Linked DNA regions of Homo sapiens: regions 2, 3, 4, 5, 6 and 7 are each linked to region 1. Evidence: promoter capture Hi-C in human tissues and cell types (Jung and others, 2019). All regions are on one chromosome and are shown on one strand. The core of a region is centred on a gene start or on the middle of the fragment in contact, and the rest is flanking DNA. Distances in the headings are between cores, read along the strand shown.

The links. Contacts are between HindIII fragments. The study calls those that stand out against the background at their distance.
Region 2: a fragment that was not itself captured here is called in contact with the fragment with the promoter of HAS2 in region 1 in 1 of the 25 tissues and cell types used here (dorsolateral prefrontal cortex).
Region 3: a fragment that was not itself captured here is called in contact with the fragment with the promoter of HAS2 in region 1 in 3 of the 25 tissues and cell types used here (aorta, dorsolateral prefrontal cortex and spleen).
Region 4: a fragment that was not itself captured here is called in contact with the fragment with the promoter of HAS2 in region 1 in 3 of the 25 tissues and cell types used here (dorsolateral prefrontal cortex, mesenchymal stem cells and mesendoderm cells).
Region 5: a fragment that was not itself captured here is called in contact with the fragment with the promoter of HAS2 in region 1 in 2 of the 25 tissues and cell types used here (IMR-90 fibroblasts and stomach).
Region 6: a fragment that was not itself captured here is called in contact with the fragment with the promoter of HAS2 in region 1 in 1 of the 25 tissues and cell types used here (lymphoblastoid cells).
Region 7: a fragment that was not itself captured here is called in contact with the fragment with the promoter of HAS2 in region 1 in 2 of the 25 tissues and cell types used here (mesenchymal stem cells and spleen).

What each region holds. Positions count from the first base shown.
Region 1 is chr8:121,639,424-121,643,086 of GRCh38, reverse strand. HAS2 (hyaluronan synthase 2) reads left to right here and starts at 1,647. Exons shown (of 4, transcript NM_005328.3): 1 at 1,647-2,234. It also overlaps HAS2-AS1. RefSeq lists enhancers at 365-988, 3,190-3,663. The HindIII fragment of the contact is 13,134 bases long and covers 1-3,663 here.
Region 2 is chr8:122,552,105-122,555,767 of GRCh38, reverse strand. The region is part of intron 2 of SMILR (smooth muscle induced lncRNA, enhancer of proliferation); the gene reads left to right. Among named protein-coding and RNA genes, the nearest start is that of SMILR, 15 kb to the left of the region's middle. The HindIII fragment of the contact is 4,063 bases long and covers 1-3,663 here.
Region 3 is chr8:122,475,423-122,479,085 of GRCh38, reverse strand. All of the region lies in intron 2 of SMILR (smooth muscle induced lncRNA, enhancer of proliferation), which reads left to right. Among named protein-coding and RNA genes, the nearest start is that of SMILR, 91 kb to the left of the region's middle. The HindIII fragment of the contact is 4,576 bases long and covers 1-3,663 here.
Region 4 is chr8:122,456,815-122,460,477 of GRCh38, reverse strand. The region is part of intron 2 of SMILR (smooth muscle induced lncRNA, enhancer of proliferation); the gene reads left to right. Among named protein-coding and RNA genes, the nearest start is that of SMILR, 110 kb to the left of the region's middle. The HindIII fragment of the contact is 5,362 bases long and covers 1-3,663 here.
Region 5 is chr8:122,436,077-122,439,739 of GRCh38, reverse strand. The region is part of intron 2 of SMILR (smooth muscle induced lncRNA, enhancer of proliferation); the gene reads left to right. Among named protein-coding and RNA genes, the nearest start is that of SMILR, 130 kb to the left of the region's middle. The HindIII fragment of the contact is 9,762 bases long and covers 1-3,663 here.
Region 6 is chr8:122,340,746-122,344,408 of GRCh38, reverse strand. All of the region lies in intron 1 of LOC105375733 (a long non-coding RNA gene), which reads left to right. Among named protein-coding and RNA genes, the nearest start is that of SMILR, 230 kb to the left of the region's middle. The HindIII fragment of the contact is 6,009 bases long and covers 1-3,663 here.
Region 7 is chr8:120,994,582-120,998,244 of GRCh38, reverse strand. No RefSeq gene overlaps it. Among named protein-coding and RNA genes, the nearest start is that of SNTB1, 180 kb to the right of the region's middle. The HindIII fragment of the contact is 4,581 bases long and covers 1-3,663 here.

The DNA of each region.
Region 1 (3,663 bases), core at 398-2,897:
AAACTGAATCAGGAAGCTCGAGTCTGATTAAGTGGGATGAAATTGTGATCTGAAATTTAAGCCAGTCTCTCCAAGAGTTGAACCACCTAAGGCGGAGTTCAAACAAAGGCTGAAGCAGGAAGGTTTGCTGGGGGAAATCAGTGGGGTCCCCTGAGCAGCGTGAAGTCATCAGGCCAAGGTAATGCTTCCCAGAGGTGTAACCGCTGTGTGTGTGTGTGGCGTGGCGGGGGGGGGCGGGGGGAAGGGGGCGGAAACGCGCAGTACTTTGCAGGTCAGCCCCTGGGGACTGGGATGGCTGACTACCTGGTATTGCACTAAAATGCTTGACCCCTAATCACATCCCCCAACACTACACCTTGTGCGACGTGATGAAAGCATCATTTCCAGTTTATTCGACTTTTCTGTTTAGACTTATTCATTATAGCCCATATATGTGATAAGGACTAAGAACCCAGTCTTCAAGGTCCTGTCGAGTTCCAAAGAAGTCCACCCCTCAGAAGATCCTTGGAAGGGGAAGAAGGAAAAAAGAAAGAAAGAAAAATCTGTTTTACCCTATAACAATTTCAGCGCAATCTCCCAAGACCAAGTTGGTTAATTTGTAAAGTCACTCTCATTTTTTCCTCAACAGTGCCACCTACTGTCCATTTTCAGTCATCAGCAGGCTTGTTGGCAAGGTCCAAGAGAAAGAAAGGAGGCGGAGTGGTGGGGGGAGGAGTAACCAAAAAACGAACTCTACCCAGCCTTGGGGCATTGTGAAAACGACGAGGAAAGGCCATCTCCAAGCAAGACATATTTGTCCTCGTCAACTTTGCAGAAGGCTTGCAAAAAGCAAAAGCCAGTTAAGCCATTTCCTTCAAGATGGCTAAATATAAGTCCTCCAGAAAACAATTTTTATTATTTTATTTTTAATGCGCGCTGTTTGAGTATGTTTACGTTAGGGGACCAGATTGAGCAAAAATATACATATAATTACTTTTCTATGTTTTCCGCCCACCCACGGCAGAAACCTCTTTATGAGAAAGGCTTTGACACTTGACGTCAGCTCAGAAACTTTTGAGTTGGCGGGAAGAAAGGGTTAACAAGTGGTGGACCAGCGCGATCTTTTTAGAGTCCCAGCCGGCTGTCGAAGGCTCCAGGTACACACACACACGCACACACTTACACACACACACACACACGTGCACACACCCCTCCCAACTGTTCCTCCTTGGGTCGGTTACTTAGCTGAAGGGCACCATTTGGCTTTAAAACAAATTACTTCAGCGCCACAGGGAGTTTATCGCTTGGAGGGAACTTGTAACGCGGGAGTTCAGGGAAATCCAAGAGGCGAGGGCTCCCACCTCCGCCGCCAGAGGAAAGTAAGGAATCAGGTGGTGGCCCCCTATGTGTCTTGCATTTCTCTGCACACGTTAGCAATCAAGTTAATTGAATTCATTGGAGTTTAGAACCGGCCTGTAGCTCAGAGAAGGCTTTGAATGGCCAATTTCTCTCTCTCCCTCTCCCCCTCCCCGCCTCCCGCTCGCCCGCCCGCCCGCGCTCCCAGTTCCCTCCCCTCAGGGTTCCCCAGTCCACACCTCCCTCTCCACTTCCCTCACCCCCCCACTCCCTCCGCCGCCCTATTAAAACACCCACCAGCTCACTTGTTAAGACCCCCTTAAGTTGGAGGAGGCAGAAGGGCAACAACGGCGGGGAAGGAGAAGTCAAGACGTCTGGAAAGAATTACCCAGTCCTGGCTTCGAGCAGCCCATTGAACCAGAGACTTGAAACAGCCCCAGCCAAAGACTTTTCTCCCAATTCTGCGCTTCCTGGGTTCTGCTGAGTCTTCCACAGGCTTTTTTTTTTTTTTTTTTTTTTTTTAAGACGAAAAAGAGATTTTCTGTTATCGGGGGCAGAAAGACTGAAGCCCAAAAAAAAAAAAAAAAAAAAAAGAAAAGAAAAGAAAAAAGAAAAGTTAATTTATTTTTAAAGCATAATTTTTTTAAGAATTAGACTGAAGTGCAACGGAAACATAAAGAGAATATTAGTGAAATTATTTTTTAAAGTGGGGAAGAATCAAACATTTAAGACTCCCCTATCCTTTTTAAATGTTGTTTTTAAATTTCTTATTTTTTTTGGCCGGTCGTCTCAAATTCATCTGATCTCTTATTACCTCAATTTTGGAAACTGCCCGCCACCGACCCTCCGGGACCACACAGACAGGCTGAGGACGACTTTATGACCAAGAGCTGAACAAGGTACGTTACACTGGCGCGTTTTGGTGAAGGATGAAGGTCCTCCAACAGGCCAGGGAGAAGGAAGACATCCTTATAATTGTTTTAAAATTTTTAAGCCAGTTTCGATAGAAAAGTTGGAAGTTTAAAAATTTCCAACAGACTGAAGATCAGGGAATATTTCAGGTCACTGTCAGGCTTAGCAACATAGCCCTCTTTTCCCATTTCTGCGGCTCTCGCCAGAAATCCGCTGCCTTTCTGGGGACACAGGTAGCCTCTCTGCCTGGGAAAGGCTGCACGTCCTCAGATGTACTTTTCCATTTTGCATCTTCCGGAGCAGCAGAGGGGCTCCAGAGTTAGGAAACAAGAATTCCCAATGTAAGGAAAATGCATTCTGCACAGCCGCCCCACCCCTTCCCTTCTTTTTTTCCCACACACACACACACACACACACACTGTGGGGAGAAAAACTGGAATAGCCCAGCGCGTTTTACTTCTAAGTGAAAAAGTCGCTTCTTGCTGGGAATGCAAAGGGTTAAGCAATCTGGGCTTCCAGCTCCGACAAGCTGGGACCCTGGAGAAGGAGGGTCCTTCTCTACCTCCTCGCAGCTACCATCCCCTCTCGGCCACTCCCCCCTTTCCCGGGCCTCCCCTCCTTTGCACTTCCCGCACCCCATTAAAGTGTCAGGCTCGTCAGTCTGGGCTTACTCGGGCCAGGGGTCCCTGACGCAGGCGGTGGCACCCGCAGATAGGAGCGGGAGGAGGGCGCGCATCCCTCCTCTCCTCGCCGGGCCAGCCCGCCGGCCGCCCGGAGGCAGGGCGTGCGTGGGGACCGCGCGCTGCGCTTCGGCAGCTGCGGCGTCCCCAGAGCCAATTCCGACGTGGCACCGCGCACGCCGGCGCTTCTCTCCTCAGCTGCAGCTGGGGACACTGCCCGGTGGGAGATCTGGGGGCGCCGTCTCGAGCGCCCAGCCGATGAACGGGGCGAGGGGCCTGTGGGAGCTGGGGTGGAGGTGGGAGGGAAGCCAGAGGCTGGGTTGGGATGGATAATCAACACCTTGGGGGGAATTCGTCACGGCAGTTCCCGCCCAGCGTGAGCCAGGGCTCCGAAATGGGTCCCTGTGAACAGGAGGGCGGGTCTGAAAGGAGGGTCTGTATGAGGGTGAGAACCGGGAGGCGAAAGAGCCTTTTTCCTCTGACCACGGAAACGCAGCCGCGGGGGAACGGCGCTGAAAGGATAATTAAAGCTGCAAAGAGGCGCTGGGAGCACAGGGGCGGTGCCTGGGGAGGAGGACTTGCAAGACCTGTGTCCTATTACACAGTCTTAGGTGCCAGTTCCCCTAGCGCCTCTCCCTCCGTCCCCCAAACGTCCGCGCTGAATACTTGGACTCAAGGACACCGCGCGCCTCTGGGGCGAACGAGCTGCAGCAGCCCAGCTACGGGAGGGAACGTG
Region 2 (3,663 bases), core at 465-2,964, 910 kb before region 1:
ATGCGAATATAGCCCACTGCCACTTTTCAGGATTTCTTTCAGCTTCTCGTGACCCTCTCCCAGGACACGCACGCACTATGTGACTGACCATCTGGTACAGATCTATAGACCTTCCTCTGTGGTTTTTCTCCAGCTCTTCCCCATCCAGACCATTCTGCGAAGCTTGCTTTGGAAATGGAAGACATACAGCATCTTTTTCCAATAGAATAAGGCTGTCTATACATGAGCCAAAAAATATACATCTTGGGGCTTTGTAGGATTAAATATGTTTTGGCAAATACTGTAAATACAAAGGGAGATTGGAAGAAAGGCAGCCGAACAGGCTTTTAGGTTTCACTTATGTTCCCTTCCTGCAGAATGAATGATCATTTCAAGATGCATCATTTTGTTCAGCTCATCTTTAAGGAAACAAAGGTCACTATTATTCATAAACAACCGGAATGGGAAACAACCATTACAATCAAACCACACAAACGCATATTGGGAAGAGCCTTTTCTTTCTTCCTTCCTTTTCTTTGCTTTCTGTGTTCAGAGGCCATAATGACGACTGTTCCTGGTCTTCATTCATTATATACAAATGGGTTTAGCACATTTTGGCATCTGTACCCTGTTTACAACAAAATGTTCCTGTCCTGTCCTTTAATGCTGCTGTGTGGTTTCTGTAGGGCTGCCTTCCAGTGATAAAAACAGGAGGGATAATGGGGGGGTGAGATGTGTTGGGAGTGGAGGGAGGGGGTTGTTTTCTTTTCTGGGATGGTGGGTCTCCTTGGGCAATTCATCATTCTCTCCAAGTTCACACTGCAAGGTTAAAGAAGCTGGGGCCAGGTGCGGTGGCTCACACCTGTAATCCCAGCACTTTGGGAGGCCAAGGCGGGTGGCTCACGAGGTCAGGAGATCAAGACCATCCTGCCTAACATGGTGAAACCCCATCTGTACTAAAAATACAAAAAATTAGCCGGGCATGGTGGCGGGCACCTGTAGTCCCAGCTACTTGGGAGGCTGAGGCAGGAGAATTGCTTGAACCTGGGAGGTGGAGGTTGCAGTGAGCTAAGATCGCCCCACTGCACTCCAGCCTGGCAATAGAGCGAGACTCCATCTCAAAAACAAACAAACAAAAAACAATTTTTTAATACTCCTTTTTCTACTTGTTCTGCATCTCTCTTTTCCCCTTCATCATCAAAGTTGTTAAAATAGTTCTCTAACTTGCTTTCTGTATTTTCCCAGTTCTCGGTCCTTCTGTAGCCACTCCAATCTGCCGGTACCCCTAAATGTCAACCCTCGCTGGTCTTCCCAAGGTCTGTAGCCCAGGGGTTTTCCTTTGAGTCTTAACCTTATGGGACTAATTAGCCCTATCAGATGCTGCTGCCCACACCTTCCTTTGGAAATGTTCTTTTCCTCTGCCACCTGTGTTATATGCCACCTCTGGATTCTTACCACCTTTTTGGTAAAGGCACGGTATCATTGGCGGGCCCATTTTACTCAACTTATACCTCAAAGACTGCTATGTTTTCAGGCTCTGTATTTGGCCCTCTTCTGTGTGTAGACACTCACCTTGGTTGAACTAATCTTCTCTCATGGCTGTAGTTGCCAGCTGTATGTTGACAATTCACATAACCCTGCTTTTGTTTCTCTGCTAAGATTCAAACTTATATGCCTAAGTTTTTTCCAAAATAATTGGTTGTCTCATGAGAAATTCCAATTCAAAATATCCAAAATGATACTCATCTCCCACCCATATATTCTACTATATATGCTAAAGGTTTCCCATGCTACCTTTAGCAATAAATGCCACTGCCATTTTTCAGTTTTCCCAAGCAGAAATCTGAATCAATCTTTTGCTTCCACTTTTCCACATATGTGATTCCATCAGGTCCTATTGATTTTACTTCTGATTATATCTAAAACAGGGACACTTCTCCCCATCTTTACAGCTACTATTCCGGGTGAGGCCATTATTATCTTTCTACTGCATTGGGACACTTCCTAATAGGTGTCCCCACCTCTTACATTGAAACAGTGGAGATCCTTCTAGAACAGGGGTCCCTAACCCCTGGTACCAGTCCGTGGCCTGTTAGGGACTGGGCTGCACAGCAGGAGGTGAGTGGTGTAAAAGTAAGCATTACCGTCTGAGCTCTGCCTCCTGTCAGATCAGCAGTGGCATTAGATTCTCATAAGAGCACGGGCCCTATTGTGAACTGTGCATGCCAGAGATCTAGGTTGTGCACTCCTTATGAAAATCTAATGACTGATGATCTGAGGTGGAACAGTTTCATCCCCAAACCATTCCCCCTCAACCCCTCCTTCCCCCACCCTGGTCCATAGGAAAAAATGTCTTCCACAAAACTGGTCCCTGGTGTCAAAAAGGTTGGGGACTACTGTTCTAGAATATAAATTTGATAATGTTACGTACGGTATACAGCTCAAACTTCTTTACATGACTTACAAGGCTCTTTATAACCTGGTTCCTTTTTATTTTTCCAGTTTTATTCCCAATCACTTCTGACTTTAACTCTACTACCAAATAATACCAAACATCTTTAATTCCCTTACATGGGTTTCTGACTTCACTTCCAACATTCTGAGCATGCTCATCCTGGGAATATTTTCCTTCCTCTCCTATCCACAGGAGATAGGAACAACCCCTATCCATTAGGCCTCCTATCCTATGGGACTAATTCCTAACCATTCTTCAGTGTTACACTTGGATGACTCTGCTTAACTCTGGGAAGACCAACCCGTCCTCTCCAGGGTGGGCTAAGCACCTCCCTTCTTGTCTTGTATGGTATTTTCCTGCAGCGATTGGCGCCCAATTTGTCCTCACTTGCCAGCATCCATGCCCTTAGGTAGCATTCTCTCACATTGACTCTGGACTTGGCTATTTGACTTGCTAGGGCCAATGAGAAATAGATAATGTCATGCAAGTAGAGACTTGAAAAGTGCTTGCACATTGGAGTTTGTCCTCTCTTGCTGACGGCCACACCCACTATGTGAGTAAGCCCAGACCAGATTATTGCACAATGTGAGAAATACGGCTCAGTGGCCCTTGCAATCCTAGTGGACAACTGGTAAGCCAGACATGTGAGAGCCATCTGGGACCATGTTTTTTCTGTCTGGGACATTCTTTCTCCCATATTTCTTGTAAAATGATACTCATCCCTCAGGAGTCAGCCTAAATGTCACTTTTTTGAAGAGACTTTGCCTGATGCACCATCTAAATCAGGCCCACTAGCCTAAGCTCTCATCAAACCCTTTACATTTTTTTCATAGCCATTTGCATACTGCCACTTGCATCTAATGTATTTAATTGTGTCATTATTGCTTTAACCAACAGTAAACTCCACAAAAGCAGCAAACAGATCCACATCCCAAATATCTATAGGCTCTTAGATATCTGTTGAATGAATAAATGAATGAGTAGCTAGTGTCCAGGGTGAGAGGCTTTGCGGTTGGAAGGGAGGTCAGTTGGAGAGACCATGAGCAACCTTGTGTTTTAGGCTGCAGTGCAGTTAACCTGTAGTGTATGTTTCTCATTACTCTCCTGTACATTTCTTGACTTTTATGACCATAGGTCACACCTAAGGTCACCAATTCTAGTTTTCATGATCTCCAGGACTCAGGATCTTCCCATCTACTTTAATAACCTGTGTTTCTGGCCCTTGAGTA
Region 3 (3,663 bases), core at 734-3,233, 840 kb before region 1:
GCTGAGAATCTGAGATCATAAGGGAGTGGAAGTGCTTAGGTGCACTTCTTGGGGGTGGCCAAATCAGAATGCAGGATGGTTAATCTGGGCAATTTAGCTGTCTAGTTTATCAATAAAGACCAGGATGGTGACATGTTCATACTGCAATATAATTAGTTACTTTCAATTTATTTTATTTCAAAAATAACATAGTATTCGTGAATGAGTATTCATTATTGAAAATTTAAATATTACCAAAGCATATGGAGTCTTGTGTCCACCCTTCCCCTTACTCCTCTCTCAGCCCCACTCCTCACTTCATATCACTATTCACCTATTTCCCTCCCCAGACATAATGACTTTATCTTTTATTACCTATCCATCCACACCTATTTTTTATTAATTTCTGTGCCTACATATGTACATGTACACACACTCGTTCAGCCCTCCAGAAAACATAAATGGGATCATACTATGACTACTATTCATTAACTTTTCATTTAGCACTAAATCATGGAGAGGTTTCCATGACAATGCAATATTCAGTTCCTCAGTATTCAATTCCTCAGTATTCAGTTCCTCATTTTAAAAGTCCCTTTCTTTTAAAGGCTGCATTGTGTTACCTAGTGTGACTATGAAATGACTTGATGGAGATTTCTATCCTTTCCAACTTTTGCTATCATAAGCAATACTGCAATGAACATCTTTGTGCCCAAGTGCAATTATTTTGGTAGGAGAGATTTCACAGATGAATTGAAGTTGAATTACTCATCTAAGTGGATGCACCTTGTAAATTCTAATGGATGTCAAATCACCTTCCAGAATATTGAATTAGTTTATACTTTTACTAACAATGAAAGTAAGTGACCCTTTCTTCACAACATTTACTAACATATTAACAATCCTTAAATTTCTTGTCAATCTACTAGGTAAAATTGATTTCTAATTATTTTATTTTAAATTTCTATGATTACCAATAAAGCAGATCATATTTTAATATATTAGCCGGCTTTTGGTATGTCTGTGAATTACCTCAATATAACTTTTGCCCATATTTGCATGGGAAACACTTTACTATGGAAATTAACCTTTTTTATTTATGCATATGTCCTGGGCACTCAATACATGCTCAAAGCTTTTCTGCTGAGCTTAGTATGAACTGGTCACGTTGGCATGTGGTCTTTCATCAGAAAATAAATATAATGTATTTGTTTATTTTTCTCCTTCTTCCCACATATCAGTTGTTATCAAATTTAAAGAAAAAAAATTATGGTCGATTATAGTAATCAGCTAACTTCAAGCACTTGGAATAATTTGCTGTTGCTTCTTAACTTAATTTCTAGTCTATGCTTTTGCCTAATTGTCAGACTTTGTGGTGTATTCACTTTTACAAGTTGTTGCAAAAATTTTATAAGTTAGTATAAGTATATATAAATTTATAATGGGTATTCCTTAACAGTTTTAGTTTATTATTATAATATTATTATTAGCTTTTATCTCAGATATTTTCATTATGATGTCAGTAGAAAAAATAACAGCAAAGATATAAAATAGAAATAACAAATTACCCTGCCCCGCCACACCCTAGTGCCGTGAGAGCATGAAAATATCACAGCTATGTATACTTCAAGGGAAATTATAAATTGAGATAATTAAACTTCAGATCTGGTTTTGAGCTTTCTGGAAACTAAGGTAAAAAGAGAAACACAAGAGATTTATTTTCTTAAAGTGTCTCCTTCTGGCAGTGACCTCTCCTTTTTAAAATGCCTATTTCTGCTGGCCCACACTGATGTCAATAAACGTTACTCTCAGTTTGTTTCTTGGACATTGGTCACAGCCTCAACTAGACTGAAAGATTTTCTTTTTTTTTTTTTATTATACTTTAAGTTCTAGGGTACATGTACACAATGTGCAGGTTTGTTACATATGTATACATGTGCCATGTTGGTGTGCTGCACCCATTAACTCATCATTTACATTAGGTATATATCCTAATGCTATCCCTCCCCCCTCCCCCCACCCCACGACAGGCCCTGGTGTGTGATGTTCCCCTTCCTGTGTCCAAGTGTTCACATTGTTCAATTCCCACCTATGAGTGAGAACATGCGGTGTTTGGTTTTTTGTCCTTGCGATAGTTTGCTGAGAATGATGGTTTCCAGCTTCATCCATGTCCCTACAAAGGACATGAACTCATCCTTTTTTATGGCTGCGTGGTATTCCACGATGTATATGTGCCACATTTTCTTAATCCAGTCTATCATTAATGGACATTTGGGAAAGCTTTTCAAAGGTAAGAATCTACCTTATGTTTCTTTTGAATCACTCAGGGTAAATGATTAGGAAACCTACATTGAAAAATTAGTGCTAAAAGTACAAAACCATGGGATCCTCCCAAAGTAGAAATCAGGGCCAGGCCTGAAATTGTAATTTCAATAGAAGATAGAAGGAGGTGGGAGGGGAATGGGGAGAACAGTGAATAAATGGCAAGCACCCAGACTTTGCTTTGCATCCCAGCTTGCCTTGGACAAATAACCTAACCCATGTCTCAGCATTCTCGTATTTTGTCTCAGCATATCTCTCATTTATTTTGAAAACTATGTTGTATTATACAGAGCTGTTACAATTATCACTATTATGGAGGTGTTTGGGGGCTACATTGATCCACCACAAGCTTAGATTGTGCATCGTGAAGGTTGATGATGCTTGCATAGTCAACCACTACTCCCACTTCACGCAACAAAAACCTGCCTGTTGAGCAGGTCTTTGAAAGGGTGTGGGAGGTTGTTACTATTTGCTGGGCTTCAAGAAAAATTAGTTTGCCCAGAGGTGTTTTCTATGATGACAGAACTGTATGACTCTGGGTACAGGAATTAAACAGTGAGTGGGGTATACATGTTAAAGTGCGTTGGTGTTGAAAGACATCTCTGTGCTGGGTTGGTTGAGGGTGAATTGTACTCTCTCTCATGCAAATCAGAATTCCTTGTATGTGTTTGGTCCTAGAAATGAATTTTAGATTTTTTTTAGCAGTTTTTAAGAGGCAAGCTTTGGCTTGAGCCTGGGGAAAATTTACCTGGGCTTGTTTGAATAACTGAGATGTGAGTCTCCCTGAACCCCTGATACTTCAGGATCTGATGAGACACATAAGGAAGAATTGGGGAAATTATTCTAGGGGACCAGTTTACCTTCCTCCTCAGGATGGATGCAAAATTCATGGGCTGTTGTAATATTTTTCACTGACATTAGTTTTTCAAACTAGGTTCCCATAAATACAGATGGTTCCTGACTTACCATGGTTTGACTTAGGATTTTTGGATTTCAGGATGGTGCAAAAGTGATATGCATTCAGCAGAAGCTGTATTTGAATATTTGGTGAATTACATGAAGTATTCTATACTTTATTATAAAATAGGCTCATGTTAGATGATTTTGCCCAACTGTAGGCTACTGTAAGTGTTCTGAGCATGTTTAAGATAGGTTAGGCTAAGCTACTCTGTTCAGTAGGTTAGATGTATTAAATGCGTTTTTGACTTAGGACATTTTCATCTAATGATGGGTTTGTTAGAACATAATCCCATTGTAAGTTGGGGAGCATCTGTGTATGATTGAGTCCTACTGAGATGGAGAGGGAGATGCAGTTAGCAGTGTAAGTCAGAGCAAAAGAGACATTCTCTCATTTTAAAATGC
Region 4 (3,663 bases), core at 386-2,885, 820 kb before region 1:
CTGCTATTTAAAAAGTTATGCATATTTAAAAAAGCATTTTTATGACCCCATTTTCAGGTCTTTAAGCCAAGTCCATCCTTACAAGCAACACATCTCAACTAGTCCTTAAAACAAGCTGCAAAATCCAGATGGTGTCTGAGATCATCTCTCAAGTCAGGCTCCCACCACTGTCTCTTCCCACCATTTATATTCTAAACTACGACATTTCTTCCTTTGTTTCAGATTTTGACTCAATACCCAACTTCAATGTCCATTTCTAGTCTTCTATAGATTTTTCATTCCTCTTGATTGTATTTAATAATTAGACATTGGAGTCCAGGTTTGGTTTCTGGCTTTATTCGTTTCTGACCTTGCAATGACCATGTCACAAATGAGTTGTTCCTGCTTTAAGATCCTTCTTCTGTGTACAGCACCCCGACCTTGGGGATCTCCTCTATTTCTCTTTCTACAAAAGGCCCCTGCGTGCTTCAAGCCTTTATTTAAAGAGAACCATTGCAGACTTTTGGGTGCTTTTGTGTGTAGCCTGATGAATTGCCTATGTTAAAGAAGAGAGAGCCTGGAGGCTCATATCAGCATCCTGCCAGGAATTTTTTTAGACAAACATTTTGACCAGAGTTTTATAAATTGTAGATAAAAGGATATTATAATGATATGTTTGCACATTATTTTCCTGAAAATAGAATGTTTTGAATTTTGTCATCCTTCTAGAAAATGTGCATTTATATTGACATTTATGGTTCAAGTCTTGAGATGCAGCCAAACCACAAGTCTAGATTTGGAGCAGTGACCATGAGGCTATGAAGATGGGTGATCATAGTGGGAGAGTAAATCAAACATTGATACTGTGGTTGGTTGACTTGTGCTAAATGAATAAAGAAAGTAATGAGTTGTACATTGTTTTTCCTAAGGCTGATGTAAACCCCCTTTTCTCTCTTGTTATATTGAATTCTTTTGGCTACCAGCCCAACATAAACTGTTGTCAAGGACTCTCTGAGCCAGTGATTCTTAGCTTTGCACTCCACTCCTCATCTTCAGGGCATACTTATGCTTAAACTCCAGGGGTTGGAGTATCATAGAAGTGACCTGCAGAATAACTGGGGAATTTTCCTAAGAGGGCAAGCAGGGATTCTTACATACATTTTATAAATTCTTTTAGGGAACACCATGGATTGTCTTTGGAGAGTCTACAAAACTCCTAAGATTCTCTGTAAAACTCATATGTATGTGTACTTTTGTCCTGTAGAGAAAGCCCACAACTTTCATGACATTCTCAAAGCGGTCTGTGATACCCCCAGTTTTTGGAACAATTGGGACAGCATATGGAAGTATGTAGTGGTAGCTCAGAATTTTGAAGCTGAAGGCTGAAGTCATGTGGCTTCTCTGCCGGGTATCACGGTCTGTAAAAAGGGCAGGGGCTTTCTTACTTATTTTTGTCACCCTCCACTTTCTAGCATGGTGGCTAGACCTAGGACATTGTCACTTTATGATACATTAGCAAATTAATAGACATCTTTGCAGAAGAAAAAAGCCATTATGTATATTAAATGCGCTTTGATTGCTGAAATGTGAAAAAAGATTGGTCTCAGAATTGAGAAAATACATTAGTATAAGCTTAATTATTCTTTGTTGAATGGATGAATAAATACTTGGTAACCGCCATGAATAATCATAACCGTTATCTACCATTTCCAACATAGTTATTACATGCCAGGAATCTCACTAAGTCTGTTACATGTATTATCTCAATTTTGGGGGTTTTGGCATTGCGTGGCAAGTACTATTATCTCAGCTTGACAAGTGAGAAAAATTGAAGCTTAAGAGAATAAAATTTTTTTTAAAGATTGTAGTACTCATAAGGACAGAATTTGAACTGAGGCTTGTTTGAATACAAATCTCAGTCTCTGAAGTTTGGAAGGTAAAGCCACATGAAACAGATTTATCAACCTATCTCCAGTTTTCCCCCATCCTCAATAAAAATAAAAATAAAATTCTTGATGTTGGTCTCGGTGATGCCTTGATTTCTTTTATATCACTCCCCTCCACCCACTGTTTCCACTGTGTCCTCCCTGGGGTTGATGTAAACTTTAAGCCCTAAAAATGGCTACAGGTCTGATTAGTATTAATCTCGTAGAAGTGTGGCTAATGGTGTTTTTCAAGAAGGGCAGAGGGGTGGTGGTTGCCTTATAAAAAGGTCAGAGAAAACCTCTATGAGGAATACAAGTTAGCATTTGTCACATATTACTGTATATGTGTGAGAGTGTATTTGTGTAAATGCATGTTTTCTTTACAATATACCAATAAACACTGGCAGCAGAAATAGGTTGTCTTTTGAAATATATTGAATCTAGCAAAAAAAGAAAAAAGAGAAAAGTCTGGCATAGAGTGAGTGCCCAATACATCAATACTTTTTTCTGGATGACTAAAGCAGAATGAGGAGGTTTGTAATTTGAAGAAGAAACTGAAATAGGAACTTTTAGTATCACAAGCAAAAAAATATTGTAGAAGTAGCAGAAGTATTTTAGGATATAATTTGAAAGAAGGAAGAAATAAAAGGTTAATCACCATCCAAATATGTAGCCATCCACTATTTTCTTTAAGAGAGTAGGAGGGTTTAGTTGGGTAGATTCAGAAGTTCATAACCATTTGATATTATTTCAATTTTAGTAATCTTCAATCCCATTCTTGATCAATAGAAGCACTTTTCAGTGTCATGATTCTGAAATCTTGTCTTGTTTTGCCCTTAATAGGAATCTCTAAATCTCAATTATGATGACAATGTGGAGTAGAATTCCTTAGTGAATCTACAGATTCTCTTAGGCAATTCAGGTTCAATTTTGCTGGTTTATTATATTCACTCCATTCAGATTGACATGTAACTTGAATCTAATGTTAAGAATATTTTTGGACTTTAAGTTACTCCTTCCTGTGGAGTTGGCAAGAAGTCTGGTGAACATTAATTTTTAAATCCTGCAAAGAGAGATTAACTTTAACTGAAGCCCCTTTGGAGCTCGATCAAGTTAGAGCCATAATTTCTTTGTAGGGACATGGATGAAGTTGGAAATCATCATTCTCAGTAAACTATCGCAAGGACAAAAAACCAAACACCGCATGTTCTCACTCATAGATGGGAATTGAACAGTGAGAACACATGGACACAGGAAGGGGAACATCACACTCTGGGGACTGTTGTGGGGTGGGGGGAGGGGGGAGGGATAGCATTAGGAGATATACCTAATGCTAAATGACGAGTTAATGGGTGCAGCACACCAGCATGGCACATGTATACATATGTAACTAACCGGCACATTGTGCACATGCCTAAAACTTAAAGTATAATAATAATAAAATAAAAAAAAGAACACTAGTGGTAGCTTGTCAAAATATTTATATTTTTAAAATTGACTTTTCTTGGTTCACTTCAGAAGTTACCAAAAACAACTGCTGATATGTTCAACATATAACAGTTTAGAAAACTTTGTGCTGTCCAAAGTAAAATAAAAAGATTCTGTTTAATATTCTGGCTTTAATGTGTATGTTGTGTTTATTTATTTTAAATGTAGCAGACATTTTTATAATAAAGACTTAGCATTTAAAAAAAAACTTCAGTTGGCTCTTGGTGATTTATCTAAGGTAATTATCTAAAATTTATCTAAGGTAATTTCT
Region 5 (3,663 bases), core at 770-3,269, 800 kb before region 1:
TCACTGCCTTAATCCCGTCAGATATTGTGACAGTGAGTGTGGGGGCCTTACTTTTACTTTTGTGCATTCTAGGAGACTGAGCTTTTACTGTCTATTACTGTTTCACCCATTTCTCAGTTTTGGGGTTAAAAAACCATTGCCTCAACATGTCCTGAAATGCTCGACTGAGAGCAGAAGACCCTTCCAGTTTATGAATAATGAGTTTTGAAATGGTTTGTTATATAGCAGTATCTAATCAATAAACTATATAGTAAGTTTTTGTCTGGGCATAAGTAGTCAAAGCCAAATGTAGGCTTGCTTAGGACAAAGTGAAGAAGTCATAGGTTCACAGCATCAAAGTAGTGTTCAAAACCAGAGTGTGGGATCAGTAGGACTCTGGGAACATCTGCTTTGAGAAAAACAGAAACCGGGGTCTTCAGCACTATTGGTACACTGTTTCTCTCATCTCTGCTGTTTTCTGCATGTGGTTTTTCTTTCTCATCATCTTCCTCCACCTCATAGATTTTAAGATTTTCATCTTGGAGTTACCACCACAAAGAAGGAATAATCCTTCACTTCCAGTTGAAATCTCAAGAAAAGACTTGAGATTATTGGTCTAACTTGGGATTGGTGTCCACCCATTGACCAGTGAACTGTGATTGAGGGAATGGAAGTGGTGAGGCAGGTAATTATGACTTGCCCCCAAGGTGGCTAGGCATCCACCCTTTAACTATGGAAGCTCACACTATACCATCTAGATGGTGGAGTAAAGGTGTATAGTTATCCTGACAAGGCAAAGCTGTACATTATAGAGTACACTGTACATGTTTTCATGTTACCCTAGTGATAATGAAGAAATTGTGCAGAGGTACCTGAGAGTTTGTTTTTAGCAATTGTCTATTAATTTCATTATCCATCCATCCAAATGAATTGACCTCCTGGACTCTTTGAGGTAAACAAAAAGATGAAGAAAGAATTCAAAATGGAAAGATTAAAAAGGCTTCAAAATACAAGGGTCTTTTAAACTGAACATTGGAAAGTTTTAAAATAATCTACTTATTGAGACAGGTTGGCTCTGTTAGGCTGCAAATCAATTTTAATATTTGTTCATATTTCTGCTTTCACGTGAAGTTAGACAAGTGCACATGTTTCAACTCTTGAGTAAAATTTAAACAAACTCTACCAATATTGCAATTAAACCATCTGAATGTGTGGGCTAGAAGCCAGGAGAAAGTGGAAGAGGATACAAATGCAAATACAGAATTCCTACCACAGAAGTAAGGGCAAATGGATTGGTAAAGATATGTTTTCCTGACTCTAGACTAGTGGTTAGGTATGAACTATATGATACCAAGCAGCTTTATCGGAAACTGAAAAGTTCAGTCCATTGCAAAGAGTATTTCTTATAGCCGTAAGATTCAACATTTGTACCCAATCTCTTTCCTTTGTTGGACAGTGCCTTGGTGAGGAAAAGCCTGCTTGATAGTAGTGCACAGGGCAGGACTGGCATGGGGATAGACTGCCTCTCATCCTGTAAAGGCGCAGATTGGAAGTTGTCTACTGAAAAGGTGCCAGGGTCCAAGTCAGTATAATACGTTCAAAATCAGGCTGCCTGTCCAGCAGTTAAGAAAGAGGGTTGACAAAGTAGGGCCAAAGCAGGGAAGGCCAATGCATCGGGTAAGTAGGCACAAAGCAGTCAAACAGACACAACCTGCAGGAATGCCACAGATGAGTGTGTTGACACCATTAGTAGTGGCGAGGTACTGCAGTCTAGGGCCATATTGCTTGGGAAGGCCTGGTTTATCACAGGAACTGTACAGGATGGGCAGAATAAGTCATAGCTGAAGCTAAATATATACTTATTTGGCAACAAAGAAATTGGTTACATTTTCAGTTTATTTACATATGTGGTGTTAGGACTGGGATGATGCTGAGATGAGCAGCAAAGGGTAAGGGCATGAAGGTGGTAGGTGGCCTAATGTGTTGGAATGAATGAAAGAATGGGGAAAGATCTGCATATAAAATGTTCATAAGCAGGTCAGATGTAGTGGCTCATGCCTGTATTCCCAGCACTTTGGGAAGCTGAAGCAGTCGGATCTCCTGAGATCAGGAGTTTGAGACCAGTCTGGCCATTATGGTGAAACCCTGTCTCTACTAAAAACATAAAAGTTAGCCACGTGTGGTGGTGTGCACCTGTAATCTCAGCTACTAGGGAGGCTGAGGCAGGAGAATCACTTGAACCCAGAAGGTGGAGGTTGCAGTGAGCCGGGATTGCGCCATTGCACTCCAGCCTGGGCGACAGAGCAAGACTTTGTCTCAAAAAAAAAAAAAAAAATAAGATGTTGATGAGCGAAAGTCACCCATACTTATTTACTGGTCTAAAGGTTGCTGCTGTTCTGCCATCATTCCTTCCTGCTCTCAACTCCTCATCCTCAGGCTTTCCATGGCTATTTGATTATGGAGGTGGGGGAGGGGAGAGAGTTATGATTACAAGGATAGGATTTAATTTTGCAGTAGAAACTATTCTGTATTGTTTACCTATTTCCCAGGCATGTTCTGAGGATTTTTACTGATGAGATAGTTGAGAGTGTTATACAAAAAATCCAAATGTGCATTGTTTAAAATATTGCCTTCTTAGCCTTTCATTGCCTTTGGTAAAGCACAGATGTTTTACCATGCTTGTTTTTGTATTAAAATATAGATAAGATTCTACTTTCAATGACAATAAGTGACTCTCATTACAATTATTTCTTTTATTCTGTACACATGTGCATTTTATACCTATTAAGGTGAATATCATGGAGCCTCTTAAACATTCCTAACTTATGTGCTGTGCATTAATTATTTTTTAGAGTACATATTTGTTGAAAGTGCTGGTGAATTCACTTGCTCTGAATTTCTTCCAAACATATTAAATCACCTTGTAGTATGATTAATCAGAGTTGATTTTTTTAAGAACTCATATCATATTTTGATTTAACTTAGCATTTTTTTCTTCTTGGTTCCCTCCGCCCAATTCTTTTAATGAGAAACCAGATTCCTAGAAAAAACATTCCTTGGCACAGATGCCAATTCTCTGAAACTGGTGGATTGCAATGCCGCTGTGTTGAATCTCCCAGTGGGATGGGGTATCTGCAGTCAGGTTGTTTTCAAAAGGTTGACATTGGGGTTCTGGCTATGACACTACGGTTCCATTCAGTCTTTTATTATTCCTGCTCTGTAACCTGACTTTGGTCCAGGAAGAGGAAATCCTTAGGCTTAATCGAAGACAATCAGCGTAAGGTCAGGAGGGTAATGCTAAACAGACTGGAGGTAAAGGTAGCATGGAAATAAGGAAGAAGGTAAGACCAGAGTGGATTCGAAGATTAGACTCAAAGATGTTAGCCAAATGCACCTGGAAGGCAAAATATGAACCCTAAAATATACAGAGCCCTGGGGAGATATAAAAATAAATCAAGCTTATTTGGTTTATTGCCTTTCCATTTCCCTGGTGGCTTGTCCAGCTGTTACCCCAGTTTGAGCAGGCAGCTCATATGCCTGATTTTTAGGTGTTTATCATGGGGTGCCTTGCTAGAACAGCTGCTGGTAAAAGGACCCTCAATTCCTTCATTATGCATCAGCTCCCAAACTTCACAATTCCTAATATTAAACTACTTTGATTGGAGATTATAGTGTTTCATTTAA
Region 6 (3,663 bases), core at 475-2,974, 700 kb before region 1:
ACAGAATTAGCATTTTTAATTGGTTTATTCACATGGTTATTTCAATCCCATAGCCAGCCACTCTGCTCCATTCAGAGTTATGTGATGTGGAAAATTCGAATAATTAGAAGGAATTATCTCTATCTTCAAGAAGAATAGTCTATTTGAAATCATGAATTATCAGAACAATCCAGAGGCTGTATCGATGTTTCAGTTTTTAACTTAATTGCACGACGTGTAAGAAAGTAGATTAATATATGGTAGTGGGTCAATTTCCATCAGTTCATTAATTTTTTTAAAAAATTCCTTTTAACTTAGCCTTCTTTCCCATCTGCAGACGTTCAACAAATAGTCAGTAATCACTACCTCCACTTCCTTCTCTCCTTCATTCTTTTTTCCATTGAATCTAGTTCCACCTCCGTAACTGTACTGAAAATGCTCTAGCTTAGATCACCATTTCAGTGGACATTTTCCCATCTTCATCTCTCTCTATTTTATGTAACTTTTGAAATACTCGCAAGTCTTCTCCCATAGTTTCTATGATAACACTAGGTTTCTACTTTTCAAATACTCTTCACTGTTCTCTCTCTACCCTTGAGGTAATCAAACTTTTTCTTAGTGTTTTTCTAGTCCTACATCCCAAGCTTTTCTTCTTGATCTTGTCCATTTCTATGTTTTACAATACATTAGAATACTAACATAAACCCATTCACAGTCTAGAAATGGAGAGGGCCGTGGCATTCAGAAAATCAAAAGTAATCTGAAAAATTCCAATGATCTGTCATCTGTGATTTACTTGCTGATGGCAAACATTGGTAGTGAATTTTCACAGCATAATTGGGAGAACTGCTGCTGTTTGGAAATAGTTACACATTAAAGGCTTAGTAGAAGATGAAATAAGTATGACCTGTGAACAAAAACAGATAACTAAGAAGTAGACACAAGTTGTTTTACTCATCTTGAATCAGAAATAGTAATATTTGTAAAATTTGATGGTAATAGATACAAATTCGCTTTGAGTTAGGATAATGGGTCATAAAATACCTAATCTGAGGAAAACAAAGCTAGCACTTAAAATACACATTGCTTCCATCTCCATTACTTGCTTCACTCTTAAGAGAGCTACCTAATAGTTAAGATCCTGTTATTAGCCTTTTTTGATTGCAAATGAAAGAAAAATCAACATGGACTAGCTCTCCAAATTAAGAAAATAAATTCACTCATGTAATGTAACAAAATCTGCGATAGTTCTGGGCATGGGCGGATCCAGATGCTTAAGCAATACAGTCAGCAAGGTTTCCCTCTTTTTTCCTTGTTTCTGTGTTTATTTCTGTTGGCATCATTCTCAGGTAGGTTCTTATTCACACAGTGGTAAATATGCCTGCAAATAGCTTCAGATCATCTACATTTTATTGATTCAGCAACCCCGGAAAAGCAGCACTTTGCTGACAGCTCCTAGATATGATTTTTCTAGCTTCAGCCTGTGTCTTGTGTCACTTTTGGAATCAGGGGATGGAATCAACCTTATCTGAACCTATTATGTTGGTGATGGAGAAGGAATGGACCCAAGATGCACACAGAAACACACACATATGTCTCTTTTCTTCTGTATATTACAGTCACGTTTATTATCCTATTGTATGAAAAAAGCACTCAGAGACATTAAGTTACCTGCCAAGGTCATATGGCTAGTAAGAGGACTTTATGAGAAACAGGAGTTACCCTAGTGTCAATGAATTATAGATATTTAGAATTGAAAGTAACTTACAACTATAATGTACAATCTTTTTCCATGGTTTTCAAAATCTTACTTGGGTTGGGCATGGTGGCTCATGCCTGTAATCCTAGCACTTTGGGAGGAGGGAGGATCACTTGAGGCCAGGAGTTCAAGACCAGTTTGAACAACATAGTGAGACCCAGTCTCTACAAAAAATTAGAACAAAACAAAAAAAAAATAGGTGGGCATGGTGGTGTGTGCCTGTAGTCCCAGCTCCTTGGGAGACTGAGGCGGGAGGATCACTTGGGCCCAGGAGGTTTGAGGCTGCAGTTAACTATGATTTTTCCACTGCACTCTAGCCTGGGAGACAGACTGAGACTCAGTCTCTTAAACAAACAAACACAAAAAATTACTTCTTGTGTCCTAAGTGCTGTGCACTTGTTCCAAAAGAATGTGAAATCCCTCCTCACTGCAGCAGCATTGAGTTTATCTGCTTTACATTTTAGATTATGTAAGATTCTGTAGGAGAAAAGATTTCATCTATGTTAGAAAAGTTTTCAAACAACCACCCAAAGTCACCCTCTTATTGTATGGAAGTTATTTGCTCTGTTATAATTAGGTCAAAAGGTGCTTCATAATCAGTTTAACTAACTTTGATCAGTGTAAACCAATAGTGCCAACTGAACTCTGTTCAATAATCCCTGAGGCGAATATCAAATATGTAATAGAACAGGCATTCACATTTTCCCATTTCTCAGTTGCTTTGAGTATCTAAAGATGTTCTCAGCTTCTTCACATAAACCCACAGGGTATGACCTACTTGCTTTAAGAGCAGTTGTTCTTTTTTTTTTTTTTTTTTTTTTTTTTTGAGACAGGATCTCGTTCTGTCTGTCACCCAGGCTGGAGGCACAATCATGGCTCACTGAAGCCTCGACCTCCTGGGCTCAGTTGATCCTCCCACCTCAGCCTCTGGAGTAGCTGGGACTACAGGTGCATGGCACCATGCCTGGCTCATTTTTATATTTTTTTGTAGAGACAGAGTTTTCGCTATGTTGTGCAGGTTGGTCTTGAACTCCCGGGTTCAAGTGATCGATCCTCCCTGCTTATCCTCCCAGAATGTTGGGATTACAGGGGTGAGCCACTGTGCCCAGCCTATGAAGCAGTTGTTCTTTATGGAAGTATTCTAACATAGAAGGGAGTTAATATGACAAGGGTAAAGATGGGAAGAAACTATTTTATGGTGTAAAATCTCAACTTAAAGTTTTAAGGATTTATCTTTTCTCCTCAAACAGAGTATAATTTAATGAAAAGTTGTCAACTTTTTGGCATCAGTGGGTTGAGATTTCAAGTTCTTTAGGGCCTGGCAGATAATGTACATTATTTTACTGGAGTATGCACAATCTGTCTACTGGGACCAGCCTCTATTCAGCGGCAGCTGACTGTCACTATACATAAATTATCATTGAGAAGTTGTTTTAAAAACTCCAAATTGCATTTTTACATGAATGTTTAAACATTAGAAAATCAGATATTTGAAAATAATATTGTTCCTGCTAAAATGTGTCTGTAGATTAAACAAGCCTGTAAGTTGAACATTTGTGGTCTCTGTTTTACATAATTAATGCATGGTGAATTGTTATACTATTATTGACTTTGTTGGGGAAGGTTTTTTTTCTTTTTCCTTTAATACTTGATCCATACTCAGAATATACAGGCACAATCAGATTCTATACAACAGATATTTCAAAGAAAAGATATTCAGAGTTTATACAAATTGAAGTAGGGAACCATATTTTTAAATTTATTTTTCACTGAAGCTCTATTGATTTCTTATTTGGCTGAACCTATATGATCTTTTGTGACTAGCTTACCTGTATTTGAGTATGTTCACCCTACACCATTAATCAAACCATCCTCTGTGGAAAAGTGAGCTTATTTCCTGAAAAATATTTAAGAAAAGAGGAGAC
Region 7 (3,663 bases), core at 577-3,076, 650 kb after region 1:
TAACACCTAGTGATTTTAAAACAGGATACATAGCTTCCAAATCATGGATAATAGAAACTGGGGGAGAAACAAATAAAAACTCATCAATTCATTAGAGTCCAGTAAAAAAAAAATAAGTTTCCGTGTTAAAATTAGAGGTATAAATGAACAAAATATTTGAACAGATAAATTACAAAAGAAGATGTACAAATGGCCAATAAGCACATGAGAAACTATTCAACATTATTCGTCATCAGAGAAATAAAATTTAACAAATAATTAAAAACTGCTATACACCATCCAGAATGGCCCCAAGTGAAAAGACTAACACTAATGCTGGCAAGGAAGTAGACAATCTGAACTCTCAAACATTGTTGGTGGGAGTGTCAAATTATACAGCCAATTTGGAAAAAATATCTGGCAGTTTTTCTGAAAACTTAACATGTACTTCCTCTATGACTTTAGGTATTAACTCCTAAATTTTTACCCAAGAGAAATGAAAGCATATGTCTACCAAAATTGTAACATATTTATCGATAACTTCCAAGAAATGGAAATAGCCTGTGTCCATTAATAAGAAAATAGGTAAATAAATTGTAGTACATTCAAACAATGAAGTGCTACTCTGCAACAATAAGAAATGAAGTATCAGCTAAATGTAATAAATTGGCTAAATCTTAGAAATGTTATGCATTTATGCAGCCAAAAGACACATGAAAAAATGCTCATCATCACTGGCCATCAGAGAAATGCAAATCAAAACCACAATGAGATACCATCTCACACCAGTTAGAATGGAGATCATTAAAAAGTCAGGAAACAACAGGTGCTGGAGAAGATGTGGAGAAATAGGAACACTTTTACACTGTTGGTGGGACTGTAAACTAGTTCAACCATTGTGGAAGTCAGTGTGGCAATTCCTCAGGGATCTAGAACTAGAAATACCATTTGACCCAGCCATCTCATTACTGGGTATATACCCAAAGGATTATAAATCATGCTGCTATAAACACACATGCACACGTGTGTTTATTGTGGCATTACTCACAATAGCAAATACTTGGAACCAAGCCAAATGTCCAATAATGATAGACTGGATTAAGAAAATGTGGCACATATACACCATGGAATACTATGCAGCCATAAAAAATGATGAGTTCATGTACTTTGTAGGGACATGGATGAAGCTGGAAACCATCATTCTCAGCAAACTGTCACAAGGACAAAAAACCAAACACCGCATGTTCTCACTCATAGGTGGGAATTGAACAATGAGAACACATGGACACAGGAAGGGGAACATCACATACTGGAGATATACCTAATGTTATCTCCTAACATTAGGAGATATACCTAATGTTAAATAACGAGTTAATGGGTGCAGCACACCAACATGGCACATGTATACGTACGTAACTAACCTGCACGTTGTGCACATGAACCCTAAAACTTAAAGTATTAAAAAAAAAAAAAAGAAATGTTATGCTGAGTGAAAGGAGCCTTAGGCAGGATTAAATACTAAATTATTCCATTCATATGAAGTTCTAAAACAGCAAAATAAAAACCTGTAATGAAAAAATTCAGAAATGATTGCCTCTTGAGTGACTGAAGGTTGGGCTTGGCTGTGAAAGGGCACAAAGGAGCTTTCTGGAATGATGGTCATGACTTGGTAGGCTTTGGGGGACAGTTACATGTTATATGTTGATCTTAATTCACCAAATAGCATCCTTAAGATTTGTGCACTTCACTGTATTTAAATCTTATGTCAAAAGAATAAAGAATGAAAACCAAAATTGAATTTATTTCAGGATTTGTATGCCGAAGTGCTTAGTGCTAATGTGTTGATGTCTCAAACTTACACTGGGGTGTGTTTTTAAAAATGGTAAATTGATATATGGAAAGAGGCATGGAGAGGTGAATAGATACATGATAAATCAAATACAGAAATAGGTTAAGATACAGGAGCTCAGGAGATATCTAGATTAAATACGGCAAAGTGTTAATCTGGTAGTAAGCACCGGAGGACGTCTCATGTTATTTTTTGTGTACTTGTATTTTCCTATATTCTTGAGTTATTTTATTATTACAAATATATGTGCTAAACCATGTATTACTTAAGTGCTGTACAAAAAAACCTGTATAAATATGGAGTCAGAGACCCTCTACAACCACTCTGCAGTCCCCATCCCTGGACATCCCAAGGTGAATATAGAAACTACAAAAATTCTATGGTGTTTTGGCTGTTAACTTTGTAGGTGTGTTGATAGGTTTGTATGCTTAATTAAATTGCATAAGATGGAGTAGCAAAAGTATAAACAAATCTATTCTTGAGTAGAAGCCACTATTATTCCTCAAGTGAATTTCCTCCCTCCCCTCTCAGAGGATTATACAGCCCCATTCATTATCATGTGACTTGCTCTGACCAAAGCATTTGAGCAGGCATGACATCTGCCACCTCCAAGGGAGAGTGTTGTGGGCTGAATGTGTTTCCCAAAATTTATATGATAAAGCCTTAACCTCCAGTACATCAGAATGTGACTGTATTTTGAGATAGGGCAATTAAAGAAGTGACAAAATTAAATGGAGACCATTAGAGGGTACCCCCACCTAATCTGGTTAGTGTCCTTAGGAGAGGAGGAAATCTGGACACACAAAGAGACATCAGGGATGAGCCTGGATAGAGGAAAGACTATGTGAGGATAGGGAGAAGGTGGCCATCAGCAAGCCAAGGGGAAAGTCCTCAGGAGGGACAACCCTGCTGACAACTTGATTTTGAACTGCTAGCCTCCAGAACTGTGAAGACAAGAACAAGAACTTGCATGTTCCATAACTCCTGGAAGGAGTTAAGTAACTCCAGTTGTTCTTTCAACCCGGAAGTGAAAGCTAGGTCACATCAGTTGCAAACAAGTAACATGAGAATAAATGCTTGTTGTCAGAAACCACACACACACACACACAGCAGGATGTATGTGACTATTCTTTTTGGCAGAATTTAAGTGGGGCCAAATTTTACAGATTTGACATTATGGCGCAGGAACAGTGATTTTGCAGCCCTGTCAGCTGCCTTGGTCATTGGTGAATTGCACTTTGCAATACAAAATAAAGCTTATTTTTTGGTGCCTTCCATAGGAGAGCAATTTGACTGGCTCTGTGATACAAAATGCTGCAAATGATATGTTGCCAAAAAGTTAAAGTTATTAAGCTTTTCTTTCGTCTCATCACAACCAAAATAAAGGCATCCTAGACTCAAAACAATAAGGAATTTTCTTCTTCTGCTCAGGCTGGAGTACAATGGCACAATCATGGTTCACTGTAATCTTGAACTCCTGGGCTCAAGTTATAATCCCATCTCAGCCTCTCCAGTAGCTAGGACTATATCATGCCCCGCTATTGTGGTTTTTTTTTTTTTTTTTTTTTTTGGTAGAGACAAGGTCTACTATGTTGCTCAAGCTGGTCTTGAACTCCTGGCATCAAGGGATCCTCCTGCCTCGGCCTCACAAAATGCTGGCATTACAGGCATGAGCCACTGTGCCCAGCTACGAATTTTCTTTTAAAAGTATTCATGAAAAGCTTGTTCTTTTAAAGTTTGATTTGAATGAACAAAATGTATTTTGGTGTTATGTTTTCTTCTAATCCCTTTTCTCCAATACTTGCTGGTTGTATTTTATAATAATGAATGTACAT